5 separate regions of the Homo sapiens genome follow, and regions 1, 2, 3 and 5 are each linked to region 4. Evidence: promoter capture Hi-C in 16 types of primary human blood cells and fetal thymus (Javierre and others, 2016). All regions are on one chromosome and are shown on one strand. The core of a region is centred on a gene start or on the middle of the fragment in contact, and the rest is flanking DNA. Distances in the headings are between cores, read along the strand shown. Region 1 overlaps PARP2 (poly(ADP-ribose) polymerase 2). Region 2 overlaps KLHL33 (kelch like family member 33). Region 3 overlaps TEP1 (telomerase associated protein 1). Region 4 holds the start of RNASE11 (ribonuclease A family member 11 (inactive)). Region 5 overlaps TEP1 (telomerase associated protein 1).

Region 1 (2,700 bases), core at 122-2,621, 240 kb before region 4:
CTCCCTTTCCTGCCTGTTTGTCAGATGTTAAGCAGAGAGATCTTGGAGAGCTGGCCTGTTACTCTTAGGGAACTATCTTATGTGTGGCATTTCCTTTGCAGTTGGGAAAATGGGACAGCACAGCCTGGTGGCTTGTTCAGGCAATCTCAACAAGGCCAAGGAAATCTTTCAGAAGAAGTGAGTGCTGAAAAGTGACTACAAAAAAATATACCCTCCTCTTCTTAGATGTATATTCTCTAAAAAATTTTTTTTTAGACAGTTTCACTCTTGTTGCCCAGGCTGGAGTGCAATGGCATGATCTGAGCTCACTGCAACCTCCACCTCCTGGGTTTAAGTGATTCTCCTGCCTCAGCCTCCCTAGTAGCTGGGATTACAGGCGCCCACCACCACGCCCAGCTAATTTTTGTATTTTTAATAGAGATGGGGTTTCGCCATGTTGGCCAGGCTGGTCTCGAACCCCTGACCTCAGGTGATCCGCCTGCCTCAGCCTCCCAAAGTGCGGGATTACAGGCGTGAGCCACCGTGCCCTGCCTTCTCTAAGAATTTTATAAGTGTGTGGCTTATAAAAAACTTTTCGTTTTATAGGTGTGATTTGGCCTAAATGTTAATGTCTTTTCACCCTGACATTCTGTGGTTGAAACACCAAACTGCATCCTTAGTGATTAAATCAAACTAATACCTTGAAAGTCACTAAAAACAGAAGAATCTAATATATTTAACACATGACTGACAAATTTAGGAAATTTGGGATAAGTGGAGACTATCCTGGGATAGATAATATTCAACTAGGGGCTGAGCACGGTGATGCCTGTAATCCCAGCACTTTGGGAGGTTGAGGCAGGAGGATTGCTTGAAGCTAGGAGTTTGAGACCAGCCTGGGCAACAAAGCGAGACCCCTGACTCTCCCCCAAAAAAAAGGAAAGAAAAAAAGAGAATATTCAGTTAGAATTTTTAAAACTTTATGATATAGATGAAGAACTTTCTGGAGAATTGGAGAACATGTTTCTTTCAGGGAAAGAGATTAGATGGATATCTTTTGTTTGAAATCTCAATGGCTTTTGTGGTGTTTGGGAAGGACAAGCATTGTTTTTCCCATTTTTTAAATTCCATTTGTCTCCAGAGCTTTTTTGTCCATTTAGTGTCCTCATTTAGAATTAGACTAATTTTGATTTATGGAAAGTTGATGTGTAAAGGAGCTCAGTGCTGGAAAATAAATTCTTTGGAGATTTTCTGTCTTGTAAGTCCATCTTCATAGTAGACCTTTATTTGTAAAGTTTTCTTACACCTTGGACTCTACAGATTCCTTGACAAAACGAAAAACAATTGGGAAGATCGAGAAAAGTTTGAGAAGGTGCCTGGAAAATATGATATGCTACAGATGGACTATGCCACCAATACTCAGGTAACTCTCACTATACTTTTCGAAAGAAACACATCTTCTTTTTTTATTTTATTTTTTAGAGGCAAAACTGTGCTCTGTTGCCCAGGCTGGGTGGCACAATCATGGCTCACTGCAGCCTCAAGATCCTCAGGCTCAAGTGATCCTCCCACCTCAGCCTCCTCAGTATCAGGAACTACAGGCACGTGCCACTCTGCCCAGCTGATTTTTTTTCTTTTTTTTTTGTAAAGATGAGGTTTCACTATGTTGCCCAGGCTGGTCTCGAATTCCTGGGCTCAAGCAGTCCTCTTGTCTTGGCCTCCCAAAGTCCTGAGATTACAAGCATGAGGCACCACACCTACTCCTGTTTCTTCTTACTCAGGGTAAAGCAGAATAGCTTAGATCATTCCTGGACTGGGACAGGCCAGGATATCTTGAATCCTTTCTACTTCTCACCTCAGGGGTGCTCTCACTGATCTTTGTAATCCCAAAGGGACAGTAAGAATGAGGATAGAATGTGCCTTTCTAGTCTTGGCTCTGTTATTTACTAAGGTTCTTTTTTTTTTTTTTGAGCTGGAGTTTGATTCTTGTTGCCCAGGTTGGAGTGCAATGGCTCAGTCTCAGCTCGCTGCAACCTCCAGCTCCCGGGTTCAAGCGATTCTTCTGCCTCAGCCTCTCAGGTAGCTGGGATTACAGGTGCCCGCCACTATGCCCAGCTAATTTTTTTTGTATTTTTAGTAGAGACAGGGTTTCATCATGTTGGCCAGTCTGGTCTTGAACTCGTGACCTTGGGTGATCTACCCGCCTCAGCTTCCCAAAGTGCTGGGATTACAGGCGTGAGCCATCACGCCCGGCCTACTAAGTTTCTTATAAAATCTTAGGCCCTATTTCCAGACGTTTATTGTTTTTTTCGTTTTTTTGTTTTTGTTTTTTTTTGATACGGAGTCTCGCTCTGTCGCCCAGGCTGGAGTGCAGTGGCGCGATCTCGGCTCACTGCACGCTCCGCCTCTGGGTTCACGCCATTCTCCTGCCTCAGCCTCCGGAGTAGCTGGGACTACAGGCGCCCGCCACCACGCCCGGCTAATTTTTTTTTGTATTTTTAGTAGAGACGGGGTTTCACCATGTTAGCCAGGATGGTCTCGATCTCCTGACATCATGATCCGCCCGTCTTGGCCTCCCAAAGTGCTGGGATTACAAGCGTGAGCCACTGCGGCTGGCACCAGAAGTTTATTGTTATGGACCAAGAGAGGAGTGATAAAAAATCAAACTGATTAAACAATTAACATTTAAATTTGTTTTCACTTCTGGATATATACCACCAT
Region 2 (2,700 bases), core at 115-2,614, 160 kb before region 4:
TAGAAGCTTATACCTGAGAGTTGAAGCCAGGGTGTTGGAGTGACTGTAGAAATCTTGTCCCCCACACACATAGAGTTCACTTCCTGCCAGGCTTGCAGCCCCATGCCGGAAGCGTCCGGGGGCAGGCAGGGCAGGCAGCTGCCCCCACTCAACAGTTCGTACCAGTCCCACGCCACAGCGGAAGGCCCGGGCCCACCACACTGCTCGGGATGGTTGTCTTAGGGCCATGTCTGGTCTGAGCCCATCCCCGCCAATCACTACCAGTGCCCGGTCAGGCTCCCTCCGTCTCTCTTGGCCTGGAACATCAGCCTCTACCATCAGCTGGTGCAACAGATCTGGGGTCAGGGGTGGAAGTAGCCCGGCTGCCCGCACCCTCCGCAACTCCCTGGTGGACATGCGGCCAAAGCGGACACATCGCAGCAGGGCCTTGGCCTCTGACTCCTGGGTCTCGGGGTTGGCAGCCAGCCAACACCGTGCAGCCACAAAGGCCTCAAACTCCTCCTGCACATGGAGCTCATCACTATCCAGGAGCTCAGCCAAGCAGGCAGCTGGTAAAGAAGGGAAAGCAGGACACAAGGCTACAGCAGGCAGGTGGGTGAGGAGGTAGTGACGGGCTTTGCTCCAGAGCCTCTCCAACCCAGGGGCTTCCGCCATGGGGAACAGGGCCAGGCAACGGGCAGGGCTGAGGCCCCGTGCCAAGCCTTTCTGACACAAATCCAAGCAGGAAGAGCTCTGGTACTGCAGAGCAGCCTGGGCAGCTCTCAGTAGCCCTGGCCACCTTGCCCGCACAACTCCGGAGTAAGCAAAAGAGACGAGGAGTCGCAGGTCCTGGGTGGAGATCGTCCGCAGAGATACCTCTGTGCCCTGGGATTCCCTCATCCCGCTCAGGAGCATGGCCCCAAAGAACTCACTGCCACAGGCCAGGGCGGCTCGGTGCACTGCAGGAGGGGAGAAGGAATAGAGGAGGACTCAAAGTATTGCAAGACCGATAGGCATTACCCCAACTTGGTACTCTAAGTTTGGCCAAACTCTAAGTTTGGCCCTCCAAGCCACCCACTGCTACAGACCAAACTGTGGTGTGCATCAGAATACCATGGGGTAGTTGTTAAAATGCAGGTTTCAGCAGTCCACTCCCAGAGATTCTGATTCAGCAGTTCTGGACGGAGACCCTAGAAATTTGTATTGTAACACTTCAAGTAACCCTATGTGATTCTCATGTTAGTGGCCTGAAGACACTTAGATAAACATTGCTTTAGTCTTTTTGGTCAGATGAGTCAGAAAAAGAGTCTTCATGGATCAGGTTGAGAGGAAAGCATTTGCTAAGAGGAGCACAAAATAAATGGGAAATGACCAACAAGCAACTTATATAGGTCTGTCTATATCGTGACAAAATAAAATTCTTTACAATCAAGAGCCAAGACTGTCAGCCATTCTGTTAGATTTTGCTGGGAAAGTGGCACCACTCGGGAATGGCTGTAATCCAACCTCATCGGATTGCTGTCTCCTCTTGCCTAAGATTTAGTGTTTAATGTTTTCCGTGCGTCCCAGCTTTTCTCTGCATAACCCTCTCCTGTTCTTGGTGTAATTTGTAGAATCATGAGATCTGAAACTTGAGAACTTCAAAATAATCTAATTCAATTATTCCCTTTAAAATAAGGAAACTGGTTGGGTGTCGTGGCACACACCTGTAATCCCAGCACTTTGGGAGGCTGAGGTGGGTAGGATCACTTGAGGTCAGGAGTTCAAGGCCAGCCTGGCCAACATGGTGAAACTCCATCTCTACCAAAAATACAAACATTAGCCGGGCATGGTGGCAGGCGCCTGTAATCCCAGCTACTTGGAGACTGAGGCAGGAGAATAGCTTGAACCTGGGAGGCGAGGGTTGCAATGAGCTGAGACTGCGCCGCTGCACCCAGCCTGGGTGACAGAGCGAGACTCCATCTCAAAATAAATAAATAAATAAAATGTGGAAACTGAGTTGGGTCCCAAAGAAAGCATGTGATTTATTTTTCATTTCCATGCAGTGGCTGTGTGGGCAGATCATCTCCATCCACTGCCACTGATGTCAGGCTGCAATAAGCATGCTTGTGTACCAATACCTTGGTTATCTGCATGGTCCTCATGACAATGAAACTGTCCTATTAACCTACGCTGTTAAACAATTAGACCTCATACTCAGCATCACTTATGGATTATTCTGGCCAAAATATTTAACTTGAATCTGTTCAACTCTTTAGATCTAAAGTCAAGTTTATAGGAAGTTGAAAGGCTAAAGGAACAATTTAGAGGGGAAAAACCACACAAATCAAGAAAATGGAGCATTTTATAGGATAACCAATTTTTTTTTTTTTGAGATAGGGTCTTACTCTGTCACCCTGCCTGGAGTGCAGTGGTACAATCTCGGCTCACTGCAACCTCCACCCTCCAGCTTCATGTGATTCTCGTGCCTCAGCTTCCAGATTAGCTGGGACTACAGGTGCACGCTACCATGCCTGGCTAATTTTTGTATTTTTAGTAGAGACGGTTTCGCCATGTTGGACAGGCTAACCTTGAACTCCTGGCCTCAAGTGATCTGCCTGCCTCGGCCTCCCAAAGTGTTGGGATTACAGGCGTGAGCCACTATGCCTGGCCCAGGGTAACCAATCTTACATGTTATTGTCTTTACCAATCAATATATAAAGTAATAAAAAAAAAAAAGGA
Region 3 (2,700 bases), core at 113-2,612, 190 kb before region 4:
CAGCCTGGGCAACATAGCAAGACTGTCTCAAAAAAAAAAAGCAAATGAGGGATGATTAGAGAGAGGTCAGAGACCAGAGCAAGAAGTTCAGAAACCAGGCATGTGGAAAGTCCAAGATAGAGGAAGTGAGGAATTCACATACAATCTACCCTACTCAAAATGTTTTAAAGGCTTGGAAAGATTAAAAACAGGGTTGGCCCAAAGTTTGGAACAAAATTTATGCAACACTGTTTATGGGATGGCTGTTATGTTACCACTTAATCTGTTGGCTCTAGCCCTAAGATTGGGTTCAACTGGCAAAATGTATTATCTAGTCTAGAGCAAAGGTTTCTAAACTTTTTAGATGGCCAAAAGAGAAATTTCGTAGTGTAAGTTGATTTATGAAGTATATACTAACATAATGTAGCACATTCATTAGTTAATATTTCAAGGCACAATATCCATTTAAAAGAAGGTTCACCATTTATGAAACCCCGTCTCTACAAAAATACAAAAATTAGCCAGGCGTGGTGTCTGGTGCCTCTAATCCCAGCCACTCGAAAGGCTGAGTCAGGAGAATCGCTTGAAACCAAAATGCGAAGGTTGCAGTGAACCGAGATCACGCCACTGCACTGCAGCCTGGGTGACAAAGCAAGACTCTGTCTCCAAAAAAAAAATTAAAAAAAAGTTCACCATTTATAATGACGAATGTATGTAAATCCATATTTGAAATAGTCTTCATAATTTGTAAGCTTCTCACCCAATTTCTTCTATTTGATTAGTCATTACTTTTTTTGCTTAAATATAGGTGAAAAAGATTTGCACTGGAGATAGAATTTCACCACTGACCTCTGTCACTTCCTTATTGTTCCCTTGTACCTGTGTTATTAATATTATCTTCAAGCCATAGTTTCTTTTCTTTTTTTTTTGAGACGGAGTCTCACTCTGTCACCCAGGCTAGAGTGTGGTGGTGCAATCTCAGCTCACTGCAACCTCTGATTCCTGGATTCAAGCAATTCTCCTGCCTCAGCCTCCGAGTAGCTGGGATTACAAGTGCTCACCACCATGCCTGGCTAATTTTTGTATTTTTAGTAGAGACGGGGTTTCACCATGTTGGCCAGGCTGGTCTCAAACTCCCGATCTACAGTGATCTGCCTGCCTCGGCCTCCCAAATTGCTGGGATTACAGGCGTGAGCCACCATGCCCAGCCCATAGTTTCTTAATAATAATATTTTTAAGGTTTATATCAATTTTAGGCCGGGTGCAGTGGCTCACGCCTGTAATCCCAGCACTTTGGAAGGCCGACTCAGGCGGATCATGAGGTCAGGAGATCAAGACCATCCTCGCTAACACGGTGAAACCCCATCTCTACTAAAAATACAAAAATTAGCCGGGCGTGGTGGTGGTCGCCTGTAATCTCAGCTAATCAGGAGGCTGAAGCAGGAGAATCACTTGAACCTGGGAGGCGGAGGTTGAAGTGAGCCGAGGTCGCGCCATTGCACTCCAGCCTGGGCATCAAAGTGAGACTCCGCCCAAAAAAAAAAAAAAAAGGTTTATATCAATTTTAGACAGTTAATTTGGTTAATACTGAATAATATAATTCCAAATCCATCTACAATTGAAAGATAAATTGCTATAAGTCAAATTATATAGAAACCAAAATTAAAAAAAAAAAAGAGTGAAGGGGTGACATTAATGCCCTCAGATTGTGGATGCTCAGAAAACCTCAACTATTACACGTAACACATAACACTGTATCATATGGATTCAGTGACTATGTGGGTTCAATCTGCATGGTAAGTACTGGGAAAATTCTTTTCTTTTAGATAAAAGTAAACATAAATAGGAGGTGTGATTTTCTTTTCCTGGACAGAGGTGCATTCAAACCACTTTAGAGGCCAGGCCGGTCAGTCCGTCACCATGCCTTGTGCACCAGCCCACACCATCAGCAGCTTCATCAGGTAAATGCTGCTCCCTTTGTAAAGGGGATGTAAGTCTTATTTGAATTATAGCTGGAAGCTTTCAGCCCTCTGGAAGTCTTGGGATTCTCCAGTCATCATTCTTTTTTTTTTTATTTTTGAGATGGAGTCTGTCTCTGTCACTCAGTGGCACAATCTTGGCTCGCTGCAACCTCCACTTTCCAGGCTCAAGCAATCCTCCTGCCTCAACCTCCCAAGCAGCTGGGACCACAGACATCAACCACCATGCCCAGCTAATTTTTCTATTTTTGGTTAGAGACGGGGTTTCACCATGTTGCTCAGGCTGGTCTCAAACTCCTGAGCTCAAGTGATTTGCCCGCCCCAGCCTCCCAAAGTGCTGGGATTACAGGCGTGAGCCATGGTGCCTGGCCTCCAGTCATAATTCTGATTCACAAACTGTATGGAACAATTAGGTTGTATATGTACTATAAATGAACTATTGCATCCATTGTCGACTCAAGTTTTTTCCACTGTTACTATGTATAAAAGGTTTTCTAGATCATTTTCGGTAAGAAATTAAGTCCAATATCATACTGGTGATATTAGAAAATAAACTGGACATTTATCCTTAAGATTGCAAAATTCACTAATTTCATTCCAAAAAAATGTTAATGAGTTATTAATGAGATCTGTGGTCTTCAAAAAGGGTTCTGTATATCCAATTACATTTTATCTTATATTTTATACTTATATCTTTTTTTATATTTCCTTTTATTTATTTATATTTATTTTTGGCTGGGCA
Region 4 (2,700 bases), core at 92-2,591:
TCCTAAACTTCTATATCCTATACCATTGACATCAGTAGTGAGGTGACAATAGGGAAACAGAAAGACCAGGAGGAGAAAGATAAACAGGAAGAAGAGCAGGGCAGAAATTTCCAGTCTTTCTGAGACATATATTTCAAGTGGGCAGCATTCACAGCTGCCTAGGTTTTATTTGAAACTGCTAAGAGGTGCCCTTTAAAAAAATATACCTGGCTGGGCACAGTCACTCATGCCTGTGGTCTCATTGCTTTGGGAGGCCAATGCGGGAGGATCACTTGAGGCCAGAAGTTCAAGACCAGCCTAGGCAACATAGTGAGAATCCATCTCTACAACAACAACAACAACAAAAAGCCAGTTGTGGTGGCATATGCCTATAGTCCCAGCCACTCGGGAGGCTGAGAGGAGAGGATTTCTTGAGCCCAAAAGTCTGAGACTGCAGTGAGCTGTGATCACACAACTGCACTCCATCCTGGGCAACAGAATGAGACTCTGATCCTATATATCTGTATAATATATATGTATATACATATTTAGATACAGATAGATAGATATAGATACACACACACCCAAACTACGAATGTCTAAAATGTCACAATTCATTTGAATTTGGTGTTGATCCCTATTGAATGAAATTACTCTGAGGATACATCCTATTGGTTCATCTCAGTTATACTTTTATCTGCAAGATATTTTTAATTAGAAAGGAGGAGCTTCGGTGAAGAAGGGGAGAAAAAGCACTGAAAAGGAAAGAAAAGACAACAAAACCTAGGGAGAGGGATAGAAAAAGGAATCAGAATTCAGAAAATAGATGTAGGAACCTAAAGGATGCATTTCATCCACTTCAAAGTTTTGCCCAAAAAATGATGCTACCAAGGCCCAACAAATCATGTGCTAGGGACCACCTACCTGTTCCTGTTCAGTTTCTATTCAGATGCTGAGGGCTCTGTTTACCTGGTGACACCCAAAATTCTATGGAGACAACAATGACAACAGAATTACCACAGAGAACTAGAAAATGAAACTCAGCTGAAAAACGGCCACCTAAGATGGAAGAAGCCATGAGATGAGTAAGCGTTGCCTACTCACAAGGTTGCAAACTGTCCTTCACTTACGATTATCCCCCAACGCCCCCTCCTAAATCTGATCAATCGCATGGAACTTGATGGTTACAAAAGACAGAGCTAACAACTAGCGTAAGTGCACCTTCTTCTTTGACATGACCTTGAACTAAGTCCAAATGAGCAATGAACAGCTGAAGTCTCTCAACTGAAAAGATCAGGACAGAGAGTGCTCTCCAAAGCCTGTGACCCACCCATGCCTGCTCTAGGTCACTGTATGAGTCTCTAGCTCTCACATACAGGATTGAAATGCCATAGCTCAGAATTAGTGACAACATAATCTGGCCTTTATTTGCCAATTGCCCCTTATTTCTTACTACCTCACAATACAAATTCTCCCCTCCAACAATGGCTATAATATAGCCATTTTCTGTACTACTTAAGAAATAGAATTATAGACTAATAGACTTGGAAAGAACTTGAAAGATTATCTAATTCAAGATCCTCACTTTACAGACAAGGAAACTAATGAATAGAGAAGAAGAGGACTTCATGAAATCCCCAGAATTAGAAATCTCTCTTTCTCGTCCTTCTCCTTCTAGCTGTAAGGATACTATGCCCATAGCTGAATGTGGGGAAACTAAGCAGTAAGTCCAATTGTAAGAACTAAAAAGAGAAAAGAGTTAGTAGTCCGGCTCAAAGTCCTCTCTGTTCCTTCTGGAGACACAAAGAGGAGGTCACTGAGCTCTGAAAGTCTCAATCCCTCCCTGGGAAATCCTTATCTGTGTCTCTCTAAAGTCTTTAAGGGAAATGGTTTCAGACCAGTCAGGCTCCTTTCTTTATTTCAAGACACAAAGGGAGCTGCTGAACAGGAACAGATGCTGCCTGAGTTGTATATGCTATCTTTAAAAAAGACCCTAAGAGGTGACCTCTGTTGCTTCTACAGCTAGAAGCAGAGCTAGGATTAGGCTGAGGTTAATGAGACACTCACTCTAAGACCAAAATTTAAGAGAGTGCCACAAAACTCAATAATCAAGATAAATAATATTTTAATGCAACAATTTTAGAAAATATTTATTTATTTATTTTTGAGACAGAGTCTTGCTCTGTTGCCCAGGCTGGAGTGCAATGGCATGATCTCGGCTCACTGCAACCTCCACCTCCCAGGTTCAAGCGCTCCTCCTGTGTCAGCTTCCCAAGCAGCTGGGATTACAGGCGTGCACCACCACACCCAACTAACTTTTGTATTTTTAGTGGAGAGGAGGTTTCACCATGTTGGCCAGGCTGATCTCAAACTCCTGACCTCAAGTGTTCCACCTGCCTCAGCCTCCCAAAGTGCTGGGATTACAGGCATGAGCCACCACGCCTGGCCAGAAAATAAATTTAATGCAAAATAATCCCTGATGAACAAATGTTAAAATTTTAAATACCAGGATCTGGCCCTGCACTACGTTTCTCACATAACTCATCTTACCCTGATCCTAGCCTTGTCAGATTGGATCTTCAAAATTTTGTGATAGATATTTTGAGCATCCAAGATTTCTTTTTTTTTTTTTTTGAGACGGAGTCTCACTCTGCCGCCCCGGCTGGAGTGCAGTGGCGCGATCTCGGCTCACTGCAACTCCGCCTCCTGGGTTCACGCCAT
Region 5 (2,700 bases), core at 97-2,596, 210 kb before region 4:
AACTAAATAAAGTTGAAGAATCTCTGGTCCAAGAGATCAAGGTGAAAGGTCTCCTGAGAGTCACGTGCTCACCCTCTTGGCATTTTCAACTCGAAATGGAAATTTGAATCTTTTTTCCCTGACACCCACACCCCTGCCCCAACCCTGAGCAGGGCCCCCATAAGCACACCCAGGAGTCCCATATCTCAGAGAAGAACCCAGCCAGTGACTCATCTCACCATAGAGGGCATGGGCCTCCAAGAGCCGAGAGACCAGACCCAATTCCAAGTGTGCAGCCACCACATGGAGGTTGGTAAGGAACTTCGAAAGAAGTCCACGGTTCCCGCTCTGGAGCTGAGAAGGTCAGATTGAATTCATTAGGGATATGAAGGGGCTGGTGAGAAGGGACAGTTTAGTCTCAGAACCTGGATACAGAGATAGGATCTGAGCTGGGACAAAGGACTTGAAGAAGAAGGGCAGGAAAACTGAAAGGAAAGAGGTCAAGGGAGTTTGGGAGGGGTAATGGCGGCGGTGATGGTGGAGATGGTAACGGGGAGAGGGGTCTCAGAGCAACCAAAGCACTCACTTTGGGAAAGGTGTCTATGGGGTCTAGGAACTAACCAGGTGGTAAGGCAGGTCTCCCAGAGCCTCAGGAGGGCAACTTCGGAAGGTGCCTGAGGCATCAGCGTCACATGTCTTCCAGAGCTGAGCTGCATGAACAGATATTGAGAAAGGCTCAGCCCTGCATCATTCCCAAGGGCAGTAGGTGAGCTGGCCAGCAGATGGGAGCACAGTGGGTGGTCCTGGCCTCCAGGCCCAAGCCCCACACTCAGTGCCCAGGCTGACTTGGGCTGCAATCACCTGCAATGAGGATGTGTGCCGTGTCCTCTAGCCCTGGCCTCTTCCCATAGCAACGTTTAGCTGCTGTTCTCAGGGGCCCATCAGGGAGGCACAGCCGGGCACCAGGGCGCTCCAGAGGGCCCTCCCCTAGCAAACTGTCCTCGTGTGAGGAAGGGAGAGAGAAGAAGGAAGAGGCCTGTCAGTGAGCTTCCTGGCACACAGTGGGCTCCTATTCCCCCCTCAAATAGCGGAAACTGGAGCAGCTGGAGCAGTAGCTCATTCATGGTCTGGGAGCCAGTTGTTGAAGCTATACAGAGGGCCCCGGCTCAAAGAAGGGAAGGCACAGAGAGGTCAGCGGGAGCTCTGCTGGGGCACCTGTACCTGCGCAGACTCTGGACGAGGCAGGCAAACGGGCCCATGGGGTAGGGGTCTCCACTGTTACCAGCAGCCACTGCTTCTTCCCAGCTCTTAGTCCCCTTCGGTAGTGTCCGCCACACACTCAGCACTCCGTGCAGCTGGTCCACAGTCAAACCTGAAAACTCAAGCTCTCTGAGGCCCTCATCTAACCATACGGTGTCCCCGCCCCCACCACACCCAGTCTCTCCTTGAACTGCCTGCTGAGACCCCAAGGGAACCAATGTAATCCGAACCCTGGCCCTCAGCCTCCCAACCAACCCACCCCAAGCACTGACCACTCCGTGTGACTTCTAGGGCAGTCAAGGCCTGGGGAAGGACATCAGGCCCGTGCTCCTTCTCCAGTGTGCTCAGGATGTGCTGCAGCAGCAGGGGGACAGTGGCAGGCAGGGTCCGGAGTCTCTCAGACACCTAGGATGGCGGGAGGACAGCCTTGTTCAGTGCAGTGGGAGGAGAAGCAGCTTGGCTTGTGGGATAGGGAAGGGGCAGCAGGAGGACAGTGTGGAGGAATGAAAAAGTAAAGAACAACAGTAGGAGGGAAGTGAGGCGAGGTATGAGGCGAGGATAGGGAGTGGGTGATCACAAGACAGCAAAGGACGTGGGATAGGGATGAGACAAAGCAGCTGAAGAGAGAATGGGAAGTAGTGATTAGGACTTGGAAGGTGATGAGAACTGACCTGCTCATACAGCGTGAAGAGCCTCAGGTGATCGGTGACCAAGCGCAGGTAGAGCGGCCGGCCTGATTCCCGCTTCACCAGCAGCAGTCGCATCTGGCAAGACTCAGGACTCAGGGTGGGGTCCAGGAGGGCTGCCCGCAGCCAGCCCTCTGCCCCAGCACCAGCCCCTCTGCCAGGCAGCTCCTCCTCTGAGAGTCCCCAGCAGACGCCAGGTCCATGGCATCATCCCAGGACACAAACCATCCCTCTCCTACGCTGCTCTGCCCAGCCAGCCCTGCCAGAAAACCCCTGTGGCTCGGCCTACCCCACCAAAAACCACTTGACTCATCCCCTCACCCCGAGAGGCCCTGGAAAGGCCATTCACCGGGGGAAGAGGGCTGGGTGACATGATCAGGAATCACAATTTTCTTATTAACAACTTCCCATGGACAGAATTTCTGAGAAAACAAAGGAGCAGGTCTGTGCAAGGCAGCTAGCGGCCTCGGCACCCCAGGTCCTCATAGCTCCCAGATTCACCCCACACACCCACCGGCCCCGGCCTAGAACCCAACCTGGTTGTTAAATGGTGACTCCTCCAGCCGCTTCCCGTACAGGGCCAGCTCCTCTCTCACCAGCCGGGCCCGAGCAGAGGCCTCCAGAGGCCCCAAGGCCAGCACGTGGGCACCCTGGCTCTGCTCAAGGGTCTCCCCTAGGCCTGCATCACTAGACACACTCAGCACCAGGTGTACACACTGTGATATTTGGGCAAAGGGGCAGGAAGGTAGAAAGAAAAGGAGAACCACATTGGAGA

What was found. The method cuts DNA at HindIII sites, captures the fragments that hold promoters and counts their contacts. A CHiCAGO score of 5 or more calls a contact.
Region 1: a contact is called between a fragment that was not itself captured here and the fragment with the promoter of RNASE11 in region 4, in 3 of 17 cell types (naive CD8 T cells, total CD4 T cells and naive B cells). The highest score is 6.5, in naive CD8 T cells.
Region 2: a fragment that was not itself captured here is called in contact with the fragment with the promoter of RNASE11 in region 4 in 1 of 17 cell types (erythroblasts); the score reaches 5.9 in erythroblasts.
Region 3: a contact is called between a fragment that was not itself captured here and the fragment with the promoter of RNASE11 in region 4, in 4 of 17 cell types (erythroblasts, total B cells, non-activated CD4 T cells and 1 more). The highest score is 8.9, in erythroblasts.
Region 5: a fragment that was not itself captured here is called in contact with the fragment with the promoter of RNASE11 in region 4 in 3 of 17 cell types (total B cells, erythroblasts and naive CD8 T cells); the score reaches 8.2 in total B cells.

The regions. Positions count from the first base shown.
Region 1 is chr14:20,350,946-20,353,645 of GRCh38, forward strand. PARP2 (poly(ADP-ribose) polymerase 2) reads left to right here. Exons shown (of 16, transcript NM_001042618.2): 6 at 102-177; 7 at 1,300-1,402. Among named protein-coding and RNA genes, the nearest start is that of PARP2, 8.7 kb to the left of the region's middle. The HindIII fragment of the contact is 4,027 bases long and covers 1-2,700 here.
Region 2 is chr14:20,429,782-20,432,481 of GRCh38, forward strand. KLHL33 (kelch like family member 33) reads right to left here. Exons shown (of 5, transcript NM_001365790.2): 3 at 14-938. Among named protein-coding and RNA genes, the nearest start is that of KLHL33, 5.0 kb to the right of the region's middle. The HindIII fragment of the contact is 2,721 bases long and covers 5-2,700 here.
Region 3 is chr14:20,396,864-20,399,563 of GRCh38, forward strand. All of the region lies in intron 9 of TEP1 (telomerase associated protein 1), which reads right to left. Among named protein-coding and RNA genes, the nearest start is that of TEP1, 15 kb to the right of the region's middle. The HindIII fragment of the contact is 1,267 bases long and covers 730-1,996 here.
Region 4 is chr14:20,586,660-20,589,359 of GRCh38, forward strand. It overlaps RNASE11 (ribonuclease A family member 11 (inactive)), which reads right to left and starts at 1,342. Exons shown (of 3, transcript NM_001394190.1): 1 at 1,201-1,342; 2 at 904-966. It overlaps RNASE11-AS1 (RNASE11 and RNASE12 antisense RNA 1), which reads left to right and starts at 1,565. Exons shown (of 5, transcript NR_122043.1): 1 at 1,565-1,659. The HindIII fragment of the contact is 10,143 bases long and covers 1-2,700 here.
Region 5 is chr14:20,380,713-20,383,412 of GRCh38, forward strand. TEP1 (telomerase associated protein 1) reads right to left here. Exons shown (of 55, transcript NM_007110.5): 27 at 2,462-2,641; 28 at 1,911-2,003; 29 at 1,512-1,644; 30 at 1,201-1,351; 31 at 841-974; 32 at 601-689; 33 at 219-333. Among named protein-coding and RNA genes, the nearest start is that of TEP1, 31 kb to the right of the region's middle. The HindIII fragment of the contact is 2,872 bases long and covers 1-2,700 here.